Regions from separate parts of the Homo sapiens genome. Here region 1 is linked to region 2. The links are contacts of gene promoters, found by promoter capture Hi-C in blood cells and fetal thymus (Javierre and others, 2016). All regions are on one chromosome and are shown on one strand. Each heading gives the region's core, a stretch centred on a gene start or on the middle of the fragment in contact. The rest is flanking DNA. Distances are from core to core; before and after follow the strand shown. Region 1 overlaps ZFP30 (ZFP30 zinc finger protein). Region 2 holds the start of VN1R1 (vomeronasal 1 receptor 1).

Region 1 (7,452 bases), core at 1,881-4,380, about 20 Mb after region 2:
TGTATTTGTTAGAGATAATTTCTGAAGTCTATACACAGGAGATGATATATCTGGAATGTCCTTTTGTTCATACAAAAGAAAAATGAGGATGAATAACAAGTTTGGCAAAATGATGGTAACCTAAGTCTTGGATACATGGTTTTTATTTGTTTTGTTTTTGCTATTCTACTTTTGTGTATTTAAAATTTTCCATGATGTTCTTTTAAAGATCAAATTATCCATGAAATTATAGCCAGTTTAAAATGAATTATTTTAAAAAAAATTTCTGGCTGGGCCCGGTGGCTCATGCCTGTAATCCCAGCACTTTGGGAGGCCGGTGGGCAGATCATGAGGTCAGGAGTTCGAGACCAGCCTGACCATCATGGTGAAACCTCATCTCCACTAAAAATACAAAAATTAGCCAGGCGTGGTCACATGCGCCTGTAATCCCAGCTACTCGGGCAGCTGAGACAGGAGAATCACTTGAACCCAGGAGGCAGAGGTTGCAGTGAGCCGAGATCACGCCATTGCACTCCAGCCTGGGCAACAAGAGCAAAACTCTATCTCAAAGAAAAAAAGAAAATTTCTACATATTAAAACTTGTGGATGTTGCCAAAGCTCTACACATTGGGATTGGAATATTAATTACACTATAATGACGATAATGTATTCAGGAAGTTAAAATGTAGGTCCACATTTTATTTAGTTGACCTCTCTATCTCTATATTATAGTACCCATGGTATGCACCTTTTTTTTTTTTTTTTTTGAGACGGAGTCTCGCTCTTTCGCCCAGGCTGGCGTGCAGTGGCACAGTCTCGGCTCACTGCAAGCTCTGCCTCCCGGGTTCAAGCCATTCTCCTCCCTCAGACTTCCGAGTGGCTGGGATTACAGGCGCCCGCCACCACACCAGGTTGATTTTTGTATTTTTAGTAGAGATGGGGTTTCACCATGTTGGCCAAGCTGGTCTCAACTCCTGACCTCAGGTGATCCACCTGCCTTGGCCTCCCAAGGTGCTGGGATTACAGGCGTGAGCCACCATGCCCGACTCTCACTTCATATGTTTAAAGAATGAGTAAAAGAAAGCAATTACTACTGCTAAATGTGGGAAATAATGGACTAGACCTGTACTAATATATGGTAGTCACTAGCAACCTGTTGAGCACTTGAAATTGAGTTATTGAGCACTGAAATGTGGCTAGTCCAAATTCAAATGGTGTTTTTTTGTAAAACACAAGATTCTGAAGACTTAGTTATTTTAAAAAAGTTAAGTATCTCAATTTTTCATATTGAGTACATATTGAAATAATATTTTAGATATATTGGTTCAAATAAAATACATTAAAATGAATAACACTTTTTTGTTTTTAAAATTGTTATAGGAAAATTTATATATGTAGCTCACGTATTTCTATTGTCAGCGCTGGCATAAACAATAAAAAGTAGACTTGGTTTTTTTGTGTGTGTTTCTTTAAAAGATACCAATATAGTCAAGACCTTTGCAGTTTTGATCACAGAAATATGAAAGATTACACAGCTACAGCTATATGAATGATAAAAGTGACAGCTATGGATTTTTAAAGTTATAAGTTGCTATACTACATATATGTAATGTGTGTGTGTATAGTGTGTAGGTATATATATTTATATTTATACACACACTATACATGTATTTTAAAATATTGAAAATCCAGAATTATTTTATGGTAAAAATTACTAAAATTGACTTCACATGCTGAATGAAGAGAGCCTGAGTAGACCAACAAACAAATGAAAAATTAAGACGGTTAGAAGATACGCTTTCTAAAAGAATACATTTAGAATCTAACTTTAAAAAAAAAAAATCCTACTCTCCTGAGCCAGAGTGGTCTCAGAGAGACTCCGAGAACCTAATTTTTTACAAGTAAAATCTTTGAAGAATTGGTAATTGCTAAATTTTTCCAACATACTATTCTACAAGACTAACCTAAAACTGATTATAAGAACTAGGTGAGGAGGGCTGGCAAAACGAAAATCTAGACATTTTCCGTATGAAGAGAAATCTGGTAATTCTAATTTCTATGGGAAATTATATCCAACAGTTTAGAATAGAAAATCATTTATGTGGAATAACTTGGACCAGATCCATCCAGCTTTAATTATATATTTAGATTCTAGGCATTCTACCTTCAGAACATCATAATGATAGTAAAAGAGATACGATTCTGGCCCAGTATCATCTCAATTCATGCTTATTGTCTTTTTTTTTTTTTTTTTTTTAGCTTTCTATGTATTAAGAATGGAATGAATTTTATGTATGTAAAAGTGTAACCCAACACCTTAAAATTACCTTCTCAAAATTAATAAAGACAGAGTTCTTATAAATGATTGCATCAGTTGGACTTCGGTGATTTCACCGTGGTCATCCATTATGAACTGTATTTGCTGTTATAATTGGGAAGCCATGATGTTCAGTGTATTACATCATTATATTCCATTTCTCAAATGGAATATGAAACTTGATAGCATTTGAAACCATTTCCCAGGAAACACTAGTGCTTGATGGTATTTTTAGAAAGCATTCTGTGGTTAAATGAGCATATTAAAATTAATAATTAAGAAAATAAAACTATAGCTTCTCCAAATAATGAAGTAATGAGAGTTTAATTGATTTTATTTAACTTAATGTATCTGAAGCACCTTTTACCCTGTAACTTTCACTCTTAATGCTTGTGAGTATGGGATATGAACCCATTTTAACAGATAAGTGCTGTAACCAAAACAGGTGACAGCAAAGGTGGAAAGTTCGGACCTCATGTCAGGTGGTTAGTTGTGTTGGAAGGTGGATGTGAGGTATGTTTCCCTGGATGTGGCATCATGTTCTAAAGTCACCTGTTCTTTCTGAATATTGAACTGTTGCTTTTCTGCAGAAATAAAATTTCTGAATCAACACTATACTGCAATGAAAATGAACAACCTATGACTGTGTACAATACAGATAAATCTCAAAAGCATAATGCTGGGCAAAAGAAGCCAGACATAAAAGAGTGTGGGGAAAAGCAAGAGAGATCAGATTGTTACTGTGTCTGTGTAGAAAGAAGTAGACATAGGAGACTCCATTTTGTTCTGTACTAAGAAAAATTCTTCTGCCTTGAGATTCTGTTAATCTATAACCTTACCCCCAACCCCGTGCTCTCTGAAACATGTGCTGTGTCAACTCAGAGTTAAATGGATTAAGGGCGGTGCAAGATGTGCTTTGTTAAACAGCTGCTTGAAGGCAGCATGCTCCTTGAGAGTCATCACCACTCCCTAATCTCAAGTACCCAGGGACACAAACACTGCGGAAGGCCGCAGGGACCTCTGCCTAGGAAAGCCAGGTATTGTCCAAGGTTTCTCCCCATGTGATAGTCTGAAATATGGCCTCGTGGGAAGGGAAAGACCTGACCGTCCCCCAGCCCGACACCCGTAAAGGGTCTGTGCTGAGGAGGATTAGTAAAAGAGGAAGGAATGCCTCTTGCAGTTGAGACAAGAGGAAGGCATCTGTCTCCTGCCCGTCCCTGGGCAATGGAATGTCTTGGTATAAAACCCGATTGTACGTTCCATCTACTGAGATAGGGAAAAACCGCCTTAGGGCTGGAGGTAGGACCTGCGGGCAGCAATACTGCTTTGTAAAGCATTGAGATGTTTATGTGTATGCATATCTAAAAGCACAGCACTTAATCCTTTACATTGTCTATGATGCAAAGACCTTTGTTCACGTGTTTGTCTGCTGACCCTCTCCCCACAATTGTCTTGTGACCCTGACATATCCCCCTCTCGGAGAAACACCCACGAATGATGAATAAATACTAAGGGAACTCAGAGGCTGGCGAGATCCTCCATATGCTGAACGCTGGTTCCCCGGGTCCCCTTATTTCTTTCTCTATACTTTGTGTCTTTTTCTTTCCTAAGTCTCTCGTTCCACCTTACGAGAAACACCCACAGGTGTGGAGGGGCAACCCACCCCTTCAAAAGAGGACATACTATATGATTATATGGAATACAAAAATTGAGAACTTTTTAATGTAGTTAGAAGTCAGGATACGGCCAGGCACCGTGGCTCACGCCTGTAATCCCAGCACTTTGGGAGGCCGAGGCGGGCGGATCACGAGGTTAGGAGATCGATGAAAACCCGTCTCTACTAAAAATACAAAAAAATTAGCTGGGCGTGGTGGCGGGCGCCTGTAGGCCCAGCTGCTGGGGAGGCTGAGGCAGGAGAATGGCGTGAACCCGGGAGGTGGAGCTTGCGGTGAGCTGAGATTGCGCCACTGCACTCCAGCCTGGGCGACAGAGCGAGACTCCGTCTCAAAAAAAAAAAAAAAAATACTGAAAATACAAAAAATTAGCCGGGCGTGGTGGCGGGCGCCTGTAATCCCAGCACTTTGGGAGGCTGAGGCGGGCGGATCATGATGTCAGGAGATCGAGACCATCCGGGCTAACACGGTGAAACCCTGTCTCTACTAAAAATACAAAAACAAAATTAGCGGGGCATGGTGGCGGGCGCCTGTAGTCCCCGCTACTCAGGTGGCTGAGGCAGGAGAATGGCGTGAACCCAGGAGGCGGAGCTTGCAGTGAGCCGAGATCGCGCCACTGCACTCCAACCTGGGCAACAGAGAGAGACTCCGTCTCTAAAAAAAAAAAAAAGATACTGGTGGGGGTGAGGGGGGTAGGGGTACATGGCAGGAGGGATAGTGATGGTAAGAGCAATGGGAGGTTTCTGTAGATGCTAGTAATGTTTTGTTGCTTGATTTGCGTGCTGATTACTCTGATGTATTCAGTTTGTGAAAATTCATTGAGTTGTACATTTGTATACTTTACGTTTATTATAGTTCAATTAAAAGTTTTTTTAACTTAGGAGAATAAAAACTGAGTTTATATTGATACTTCCAATTCAAATTTAATACCACATTATTTTTAACTTTAATTTTATTCTCGCGTCTTTTGCTTTTCCCCTGAACATCTTGTTGGATTTTAACAATGAACTAATGTATGTGCTGTGATCTATAAACAGTATAAAATACTTACAACAGAATACGAGCATTACTACCAAACATGAATGCTGAATGAAGTTGAAGATTTCTTGGCATCACTCTCCGTCCTTCAAATATCATTCACTACGAATGTAGAGGGAAAATGCTTAGTTCTAACCAACCTGATTTCCAGCTAGATTCATTCGTTTCTATTTATTTTCAGTGTTCAAGGACTGCCATTTTTATTTCTGATTCAATTTTACTTTTAAAGACTATAACATTTTCATGATTTTAAAGTTAAAAACATAAAATGTGTTCAGAGAAATTTTGCATCAGTTTGTGTTCCATACAATCTGTTCCATCAATTCCCTCTTAAAAAAAACCATTTTATTACTCTTTGGTATAACTTTCCAGTGGTTCTTTTTGAGAAGGGTTTAAGTGCTCTGATGATTGCTGCGTAACAAGCCACCCAAAACTTCGTGCCATAAGACAAGCATGTTATGCTCATAGGTTCTGTGGGTCAAAAATCCAGAGAGAATACAGCAGGGATGTTTTTTCTTTGCTTCATGATGTCTGGAGTCTCAGCTGGGGTTATTTGAATGACTAGTCCAGGTAGGGCTAGAATATCCACTTCCAGGCTTCTTCTCTCTCATGCTTGAATTTTGGACTTGGAGGACTTGAATACCAATCTTAGCTAGAACTGGCAGCAGGAACACCTACATGGTCACAGATTTTTCACAGAATGTTTATTCCAAGATGAACATCCCAAGAGTGAACATTCTAAGAGAACCAGGTGGAAGCTGGCCTTTTCTGACCTAGCTTTGGAAGTATTACAGCATCACTTCTGCATTTTAATGGTTACTAGTGAGACTTAAATCCAGCCCAAATTCAAAGGAAGGGGAATTTGAGTTTACCTCTTGATGGAAAAGTGCTAAGAACATACTGTAGAAGACCATGTGGGATGGGAAATATTATTGTATCCATCTTTGAAAAATACAGTCTGCCACATTTTGCCTCCTGGCCACCATTCACATCCTGCCCCATGAAAATACACTCATGCACTTCCCTCAGGCTTCCAAAGTCTCATCCTATTACAGTATCAATTTGAAGTCTAGGACCTTATCTAAATCAAACCCAGCTAGATAAAGAAAATGTGTGTGTGTGTGTGTGTGTATATATATATACACACACATACACCATATATATATACACATACACCATATATATATATACACACACACACATACATACATACATACATACATACATACACCATGGAATACTACACAGCTATAAAAAAGAACAAAATCATATCCTTTGCAGCAACAAGGATGGAGCTGGAGGCCATTATTCTAAGCAAGTTAACACAGGAACAGAAAACCAAAACCAGCATGTTCTCACTTATAAGTGGGAGCTAAACACAGAGTACACATGGACACAAGGCAGGGAACAATAGATACCAGGGACTACTTGAAGACAGAGGGTGGGAGGATGAGAATCAAAAAACTACCTCTTGGGTAGTACCCTTATTACCTGGGTGATGAATAATCTGCACCAAACCCCTACAACACACAATTTACCCATGTAACACACCTGCACATGTACCCCCTGCACCTAAAATTAAATTTGGAAAGAAAAAAAATCAAGTCCAGGTGTGGATAAGCCTCCTTCAGTGCAGTTCCTGGGATACACTCCTTGAGTATGAGCCCTCTCAGTCCACAATATTGGGAACTAACTTCAATCTACAGTTTCTTGACACACCCACATCCAGTGGTGGAACAGCCATAGAATAATAAGCATTCAGATTCAGAAAGTTGGTGGGTAAAACAGTTGAAGGAAATTGCTAATCGTAACAATTCTGAAATCTGGCTGGGCACACATAACCAGCTCCTTGATCAGCGTTCCCTGGAAATGATTTTCTATGGCTCTTGTCCTGCCATCTGATCTTTTGGTTGCACTTTCTGAGTCACGCTGGGGTTTTCTTTTTTTTCTTCATAAAAAGTAGCCCATGTTTACAACTGAGTACTATTCTCATACTTTTTTCTTGTAGATATTTGGGAACCCAAAGATCCTTTCTCACTTTGTACCGTTTCTGCCCCTGTAAGCTCAAGCTTGTAGTGCATCAAGTAGTACAATTCTCTTGAAAATTCTGTGTATACTGTGAATTTTATTAGGGTTCATTAAATGAAACAAAAGACACACCACAGGCTCTTCTCTTTATTGTGCTCCCTAAGAGGCCACTGTGGAAAAATGACAGATACTTTTTTTTTTTTTTTTTTGAGACAGAGTCTCTCTCTGTTGCCCAGGCTGGAGTGCAGTGGTGCAATCTCGGCTCACTGCAAGCTCCGCCTCCCAGGTTCACACCATTCTCCTGTCTCAGCCTCCTGAGTAGCTGGGACTACAGGTGCCCGCCACCACGCCCAGCTAATTTTTTTGTATTTTTAATAGAGACGGGGTTTCACCATGTTGGCCAGGATGGTCTCGATC
Region 2 (6,617 bases), core at 181-2,680:
AACAAGTGGTTTGTGGGAATCTAAAAGGTTTTCATACCTCAGAGCCTGAGTTTTTTTTTTTTTTTTTTGAGACCGAGTTTCACTCTTGTTGCTCAGGCTGGAGTGCAATGGCATGATCTCGGCTCACTGCAACCTCCGCCTCTGGGGTTCAAACGATTCTCCTGCCTCAGCCTCCCGAGTAGCTGGGATTACAGGCATGCGCCACCACCTCTGACTAATTTTTGTATTTTTAGTAGAGACGGGGTTTCTCCCTGTTGGTCAGGCTGGTCTCGAACTCCCGACCTCAGCTGATCCACCAGCCTCGGCCTCCCAAACTGCTGGGATTACAGGCGTGAGCCACCTCTCGCCTGAGAATCTTGATACTGCTGTGTTATTGATTGCTCCACCCCTAAAGAGATGTAGTTATTCATGGGAGAAAATACCTCATAATTTTCCCTGATGATAGCAATTCCATAGAGACACCAAAAGAATCTAAATTATGGCCGGGCGAGGTGGCTCATCCCTGTAATCCCAGCACTTTGGGAGGCCGAGGCGGGCGGATCACGAGGTCAGGAGATCGAGACCATCCTGGCTAACACGGTGCAACCCCGTCTCTACTAAACACACACACACACACACACACACACACACACACACTAGCCGGGCGTGGTGGTGGGCGCCTGTAGTCCCAGCTACTCAGGAGGCTGAGGCAGGAGAATGGCGTGAACCCAGGAGGCTTCAGCCTCCCGAGTAGCTGGGACTACAGGCACGCACCACAACACCCAGCTAATTTTTGTATTTTTAGTAGAGACGGGGTTTCACCATGTTGGCCAGGATGGTCTCCATCTCCTGACCTTGTAATCCACCCGCCTCAGCCTCCCAAAGTGCTGAGATTACAAGCGTGAGCCACCGTGCCTGGCCGCAGTTACTATTTCTTTTGTGATTGATATATATGAATATTGTGCAATGAAATTCCCTCCCAATTGAATTATCTTTCCCTAAAAATAAACCCAAGCTTTCTGGAACATATTGAATTTCCTATTTAACAAGTTTTAAGGATATCTTAGGTGTTTCTGGGATTAGTATTTATTTTCAGGATCTTTTGCATTTACTTGTGAGAAATGGCATTGAGATAAAAATGTGTGGGCTCAAGGTGGTCATGGTTATTTCTACGGAGTCAATTCACAATCTCTAGACCTGTCCGGTGGAAAATAACAGAAATATATGTGCTTAAAATAAAATATACCATGATGCAATGTTGATTGTTCCAAAAATTATAGTTTTTAAAAATTCTTCAAGTTAGCATTTGTACTGTGCTGAAGGCCTTGTTACCAATTGTATTGTAGCGTTTTTTTAATTTCTTTTTTTTTTTTTTTTGAGACAGAGTCTCGCTCTGTCGCCCAGGCTGGAGGGCAATGGTTTGATTTCAGCTCACTGCAACCTCTGCCTCCCAGGTTCAAGCGATTCTCCTGCCTCAGCCTCCCGAGTAGCTGGGACTAGCACGCGCCGCCATGCCCGGCTAATTTTTGTATTATTAGTATTTTGTATTATTAGTAGAGACAGGGTTTCACCATGTTGGCCAGGATGGTCTCCATCTTGGCCTCCCGAAGTGCTGGAATTACAGGTGTGAGCCACTGCACCCGGCCTAAAATTTGTTTCAATGCATCAATAACAATGGTGTTTACTAAAATATTAGTGTGGAAAAGGTTTTATGGTGTATTATTTTTGCTTTTCATATCTCCAGGCTACTTAATTGAAGGTTTTATTGAAATAAGTGTAGACTCACAAGCAGTCATAAGAAATAATACAGAAAAAGCCCTGTCCATATTACCCAGGGTTCCGTCATGATTACATTTTGCAAACTATAGTATAATATCACTCTAATGATATTGACTCTTCTGTGTTCTGTTTTTATATATTTCCCTAGTTTTGCTTGTATTTACTTGTTGCATGTGTGTAAGCCCTGAGTTTTATAGGTTTGATTTGTGGATCTGTTGTGCGGTTGAGCCCTCATTCATTCACCTGCTTCTCTGCAGTTGGACACACAAGCAATTGCCTTTGCACGAACAGGGACAATCTTAATTTCTGTTTAAGATGAGAAAATATGGTTGGAGACACATTAAAACTTCTGTCTCCACTGATGACAAGATACTTCTTTCTGCTTTTTTATTCTACTGATTCTTCAGACCTCAATGAAAATCAACATCCCCTAGATTTTGATGAAATGGCTTTTGGAAAAGTAAAATCAGGGATTAGCTTCCTCATTCAGACTGGAGTTGGGATCCTGGGAAATTCCTTTCTCCTTTGTTTTTATAACTTAATTTTGTTCACTGGACACAAGCTGAGACCCACGGACTTGATTCTCAGCCAACTGGCCTTGGCTAACTCCATGGTCCTTTTCTTTAAAGGGATACCTCAGACAATGGCAGCTTTTGGATTGAAATATTTGCTGAATGACACTGGATGTAAGTTTGTCTTTTATTATCACAGGGTGGGCACAAGAGTTTCCCTCAGCACCATCTGCCTTCTCAATGGATTCCAAGCCATTAAGCTCAACCCCAGTATATGCAGGTGGATGGAGATCAAGATTAGATCCCCAAGGTTTATTGACTTCTGTTGTCTCCTCTGCTGGGCCCCCCATGTCTTGATGAATGCATCTGTTCTTCTATTAGTGAATGGCCCACTGAATAGCAAAAACAGTAGTGCAAAAAACAATTATGGATACTGTTCTTACAAAGCATCAAAGAGATTTAGCTCATTACATGCAGTCTTATATTTTTCCCCTGATTTTATGAGTTTGGGCTTCATGGTCTGGGCCAGTGGCTCCATGGTCTTCTTCCTCTACAGACACAAGCAGCAAGTCCAACACAATCACAGCAACAGACTCTCCTGCAGACCTTCCCAGGAAGCCAGAGCCACACACACCATCATGGTCCTGGTGAGCTCCTTTTTTGTTTTCTATTCAGTCCATAGTTTTCTGACAATTTGGACAACTGTAGTTGCAAACCCAGGCCAGTGGATAGTGACCAACTCTGTGTTGGTCGCCTCATGTTTCCCAGCACGCAGCCCTTTTGTCCTCATCATGAGTGATACTCATATCTCTCAGTTCTGTTTTGCCTGCAGGACAAGGAAAACACTCTTTCCTAATCTGGTTGTCATGCCATGAGTCTTTTCTCTTCATGGAATTCAGCTATTTATCATAACTCTTGCTAAGATTTAGGAAATATTAACTACTAGTTATTTGTGATAGCAACATACACATGGCCAGTAATGCTCTTGTCCAGGAAGATCTAATACCAGAGCTAAAAATGAAAGTCATGGATACTGTTACACAAAGAACACTCTATATAACTGTGTTAAGTCCTTCAGACAAGTTCAGGAAATCAAAAAGTTTAAAAAGGGAATTCTTTAGAGATTTAGGGGAGATTTCTCATTTTTGTACTATGAAGAATCATGGAATGTTTTAAAAATATTTTTAAAGCACAGTTTGATTCAGGTGCTTCTTGAACAGCATAAATCCCCTGGAGAGTCCACATGTAAGAAAGACATGTGCAGGCCGGGCACAGTGGCTCACGCCTGTAATCCCACCGTTTTGGGAGGCTGAGGCACTCCCAAATGCCTCAAGTGATCCACTCAAGATGACTTGAGGCCAGGAGTTCGAGACCAGCCTGGCCAACATGGCAAAAACCCTGTCTCAAATACAAAAATTAGCCAACCATGTGGCACACACCTGTAGTCCCAGCTACTCCAGAGGGTGAAGCACGAGAATTACTTACCAGCTTGGGTGACGGAGGGAGACTCAAAATAAAAATAAAAATAACTAAAAGTGGCTGGGCACCGTGGGTCACGCCGGTAACCCCAGCACTTTGAGAGGCTGAGGTGGGCAGATCACTTGAAGTCAGGAGTTCAAGACCAGCCTGGCCAACATGGTGAAACCCCATCTCTATTAAAAATACAAAAATTAGCCAGACATGGTGGCAGGTGCCTGTAATCCCAGCTACTCAGGAGACTGAGGCAGGAGAATCCTTGAACCCAGTAGGCAGAGGTTGCAGTGAGTCGAGATCCCACCACTGCACTCCAGCCTGGGAGACAGGGCAAGACGCCGTCTCAAAAAAAAAAAAAAAAAAGAAAGAAAGAAAGTGCTTCTGCACTCCAGCCTGGACAATAGAGCAAGACTATCTAAAAAAAAAAAAATTAAAAATCAATATCAAAATAAATGAGTATTCTCATAAGCAAGACAAGCCTAAAGAAATGTGAGTACTAACTGTAATGTGGTTACATTTAGAGACACATGAAAAAAAATAAATAAAAGAATAAAAAATAATAAAATAAATGCAATGTGGTATCCTAGGTGGAATTCTGGAACAGAACATGTATTTTGGTAAAAACTGAGGAAATCTCAATCAAAGATGTACTTTAGTTTAATAATGTATCAAAACTGTTTCACTAATTGTAAATAATGCTGTATACTAATATATGACTATATATTAGTAACAACTAGGTGTGCTTGTAAATGAGATATCTCTGTACTATATTTGCAATTTCTCTGTACATCTTAAAATGTTCTAAAATTAAAACTCTATTAAAATAGAAAAATAAGATTTTTTTTTAAAAAAAGGGAAAAGATTTAGAAATTTGGCCAAATATACAGATAACAAATAAGCATATAAAAACTTATTCAGCATCATTAATTATTAGAGAAATGCAAATTTAAAAACCACACTGACCACAACACATCTATGAAAATGGTTAATCTTTAAAATACACCATAACCATCATGGACAAGGAGGTATAACAAATGCAATTCTGCTAAATATATTCATATAAACACTTGTATATGAATGTTCATGGGTCTTTGTTAGTTTTTTAGTCCAACACTAGAAACAATCAAAATATTTATTAATAGATTAATAAATTGTGGTATATTCAATGCAATACTCTTCATCAACAAAAAATGAATACGCTTAACATGTATAAATATCAAAAAATGCTCCATATGAATGTAATGTAGGATTTCATTTGTATAAGATACTAGAAAATTTATAGGCCGGGCATGGTGGCTCACGCCTGTAATCCCAACACTTTGGGAGGCCAAGGCAGGTGGATCACTTGAGGTCAGGCGTTCGAGACCAGCCTGGCCAACATGGAGAAACCCCCGTCTCTACTAAAAATACAAAATTAGCCAGGCGTGGTGGCGCATGCCTGTAATCCTAGCTACTCAGGAGGCTGAGGCAGGAGAATCGCTTGAACCCAGAAGGTGGAGGTTGCGGTGAGCTGAGATCGTGCCATTGCACTCCAGCCTGGGCAACAAGAGTGAAATTCTGAGAAAGAGAAAGAAGAGAAGAGAGGAGAGGAGAGGAGGAGGAGAGGAGGAGAGGAGAGGAGAAGAGAAGGAGGGAGGGAAAGAAACAAAGAAAAAAGAAAAGAAAAAAGGAAAAAGAAAAGAGCAGGAGGGAGGGAGGAAGGAAGGAAGGAAAGATGTATATAGTGACATAAAGTAAACCAGTGGCTACCTGAGCATAAAAATTTGGGTAGGACTGTGAGCGAGAGAGAATAGAAAAGGGTACAAACAAACTATTGAGGCAATGGATATGTTTATTATCATGACTTTGGTGATTGTTTTTATATATTTTACACTTTAACAATGTGCAACTGAATGTCACTAATACCTCAATAAAGCTGTTAGAAAAGAAAAATTCCAAATAAAATCTGGATTTCTCAATCCTCTTTTATAACCTCTGGCAAAGCTGTGTTGATTCCATCATTAGCCTCTCCTCATGTCTTACGTGGGTCAACTCTGATTTTATAGTATCAAAAACTGGAAGCAATGTTGTTGGAAATTCAGAATCTCGGGGAAGAAGAACTGGAGACAAGGAAGGTTATGTCCACCTGAGTCACCAGGAATTATGTTTAGGTTTAAAAAAAAAAAAGACTTATCTCAGAAGTATAGAATCTCCCTTCATTCAGTCATGAGGCTCCTACCTGTGCAGTAGTGGTTTGAATTAACAGGCTTTATGTCTGTGTCTGTCTTCCACTACTATAGCAAAACACCACAGATTGCGTAATTTATAAAGTAGTTTGTTTCATACAGTTCTGGAGGCTGGGAAGTCCAAGGGTATGGCACTGGTATCTGCTTGGCATCTGGTGAGGGCCTTGTTACTCTGTCATAATATGACAGAAGGGCAAGTGAGCATGAAAGACAGAGACAGCTGATTTTATAAAAACGTCACTCTCGGGTTAACAAACCCACTCTTATGATAAAGGCATTGATTCCTTTATAAGGGCAGAGCCATCATGACCTAATCACCTCTTAAAGGTCCCATTTCTCCACACTGTTAAAATGGCAATTAAAATTCAACATACGTTTTATAACGCCAGAGACACAAGAATCCATAACACCTTTGGATTACTTGCTCTGACAATGACTTTGCCTACAGGAGATACACACGTCTGTAGGTCCTCAGAGTTTCTGTATACCCTCATCTCACATAGCCATAGTTACTGAAACATTCATGGATGTCTCTTTACAAGGCGCTCATCCATTCCACTCTAGTTTGCTGGTGTCTCATACTTCATATTAATACAATCACTGTTTCTGTACAGACTATGGTTCCCAAACTGCTTGCTATGGTTTGACC

Evidence for each region. The method cuts DNA at HindIII sites, captures the fragments that hold promoters and counts their contacts. A CHiCAGO score of 5 or more calls a contact.
Region 1: a fragment that was not itself captured here is called in contact with the fragment with the promoter of VN1R1 in region 2 in 1 of 17 cell types (total CD4 T cells); the score reaches 5.5 in total CD4 T cells.

Annotation. Positions count from the first base shown.
Region 1 is chr19:37,626,465-37,633,916 of GRCh38, reverse strand. It overlaps ZFP30 (ZFP30 zinc finger protein), which reads left to right. Exons shown (of 6, transcript NM_001320669.3): 6 at 1-2,911. Among named protein-coding and RNA genes, the nearest start is that of ZFP30, 25 kb to the left of the region's middle. The HindIII fragment of the contact is 7,896 bases long and covers 1-7,078 here.
Region 2 is chr19:57,451,953-57,458,569 of GRCh38, reverse strand. It overlaps VN1R1 (vomeronasal 1 receptor 1), which reads left to right and starts at 1,430. Exons shown (of 1, transcript NM_020633.4): 1 at 1,430-3,780. The coding sequence starts at 2,084. The coding sequence ends at 3,145. The HindIII fragment of the contact is 5,648 bases long and covers 997-6,617 here.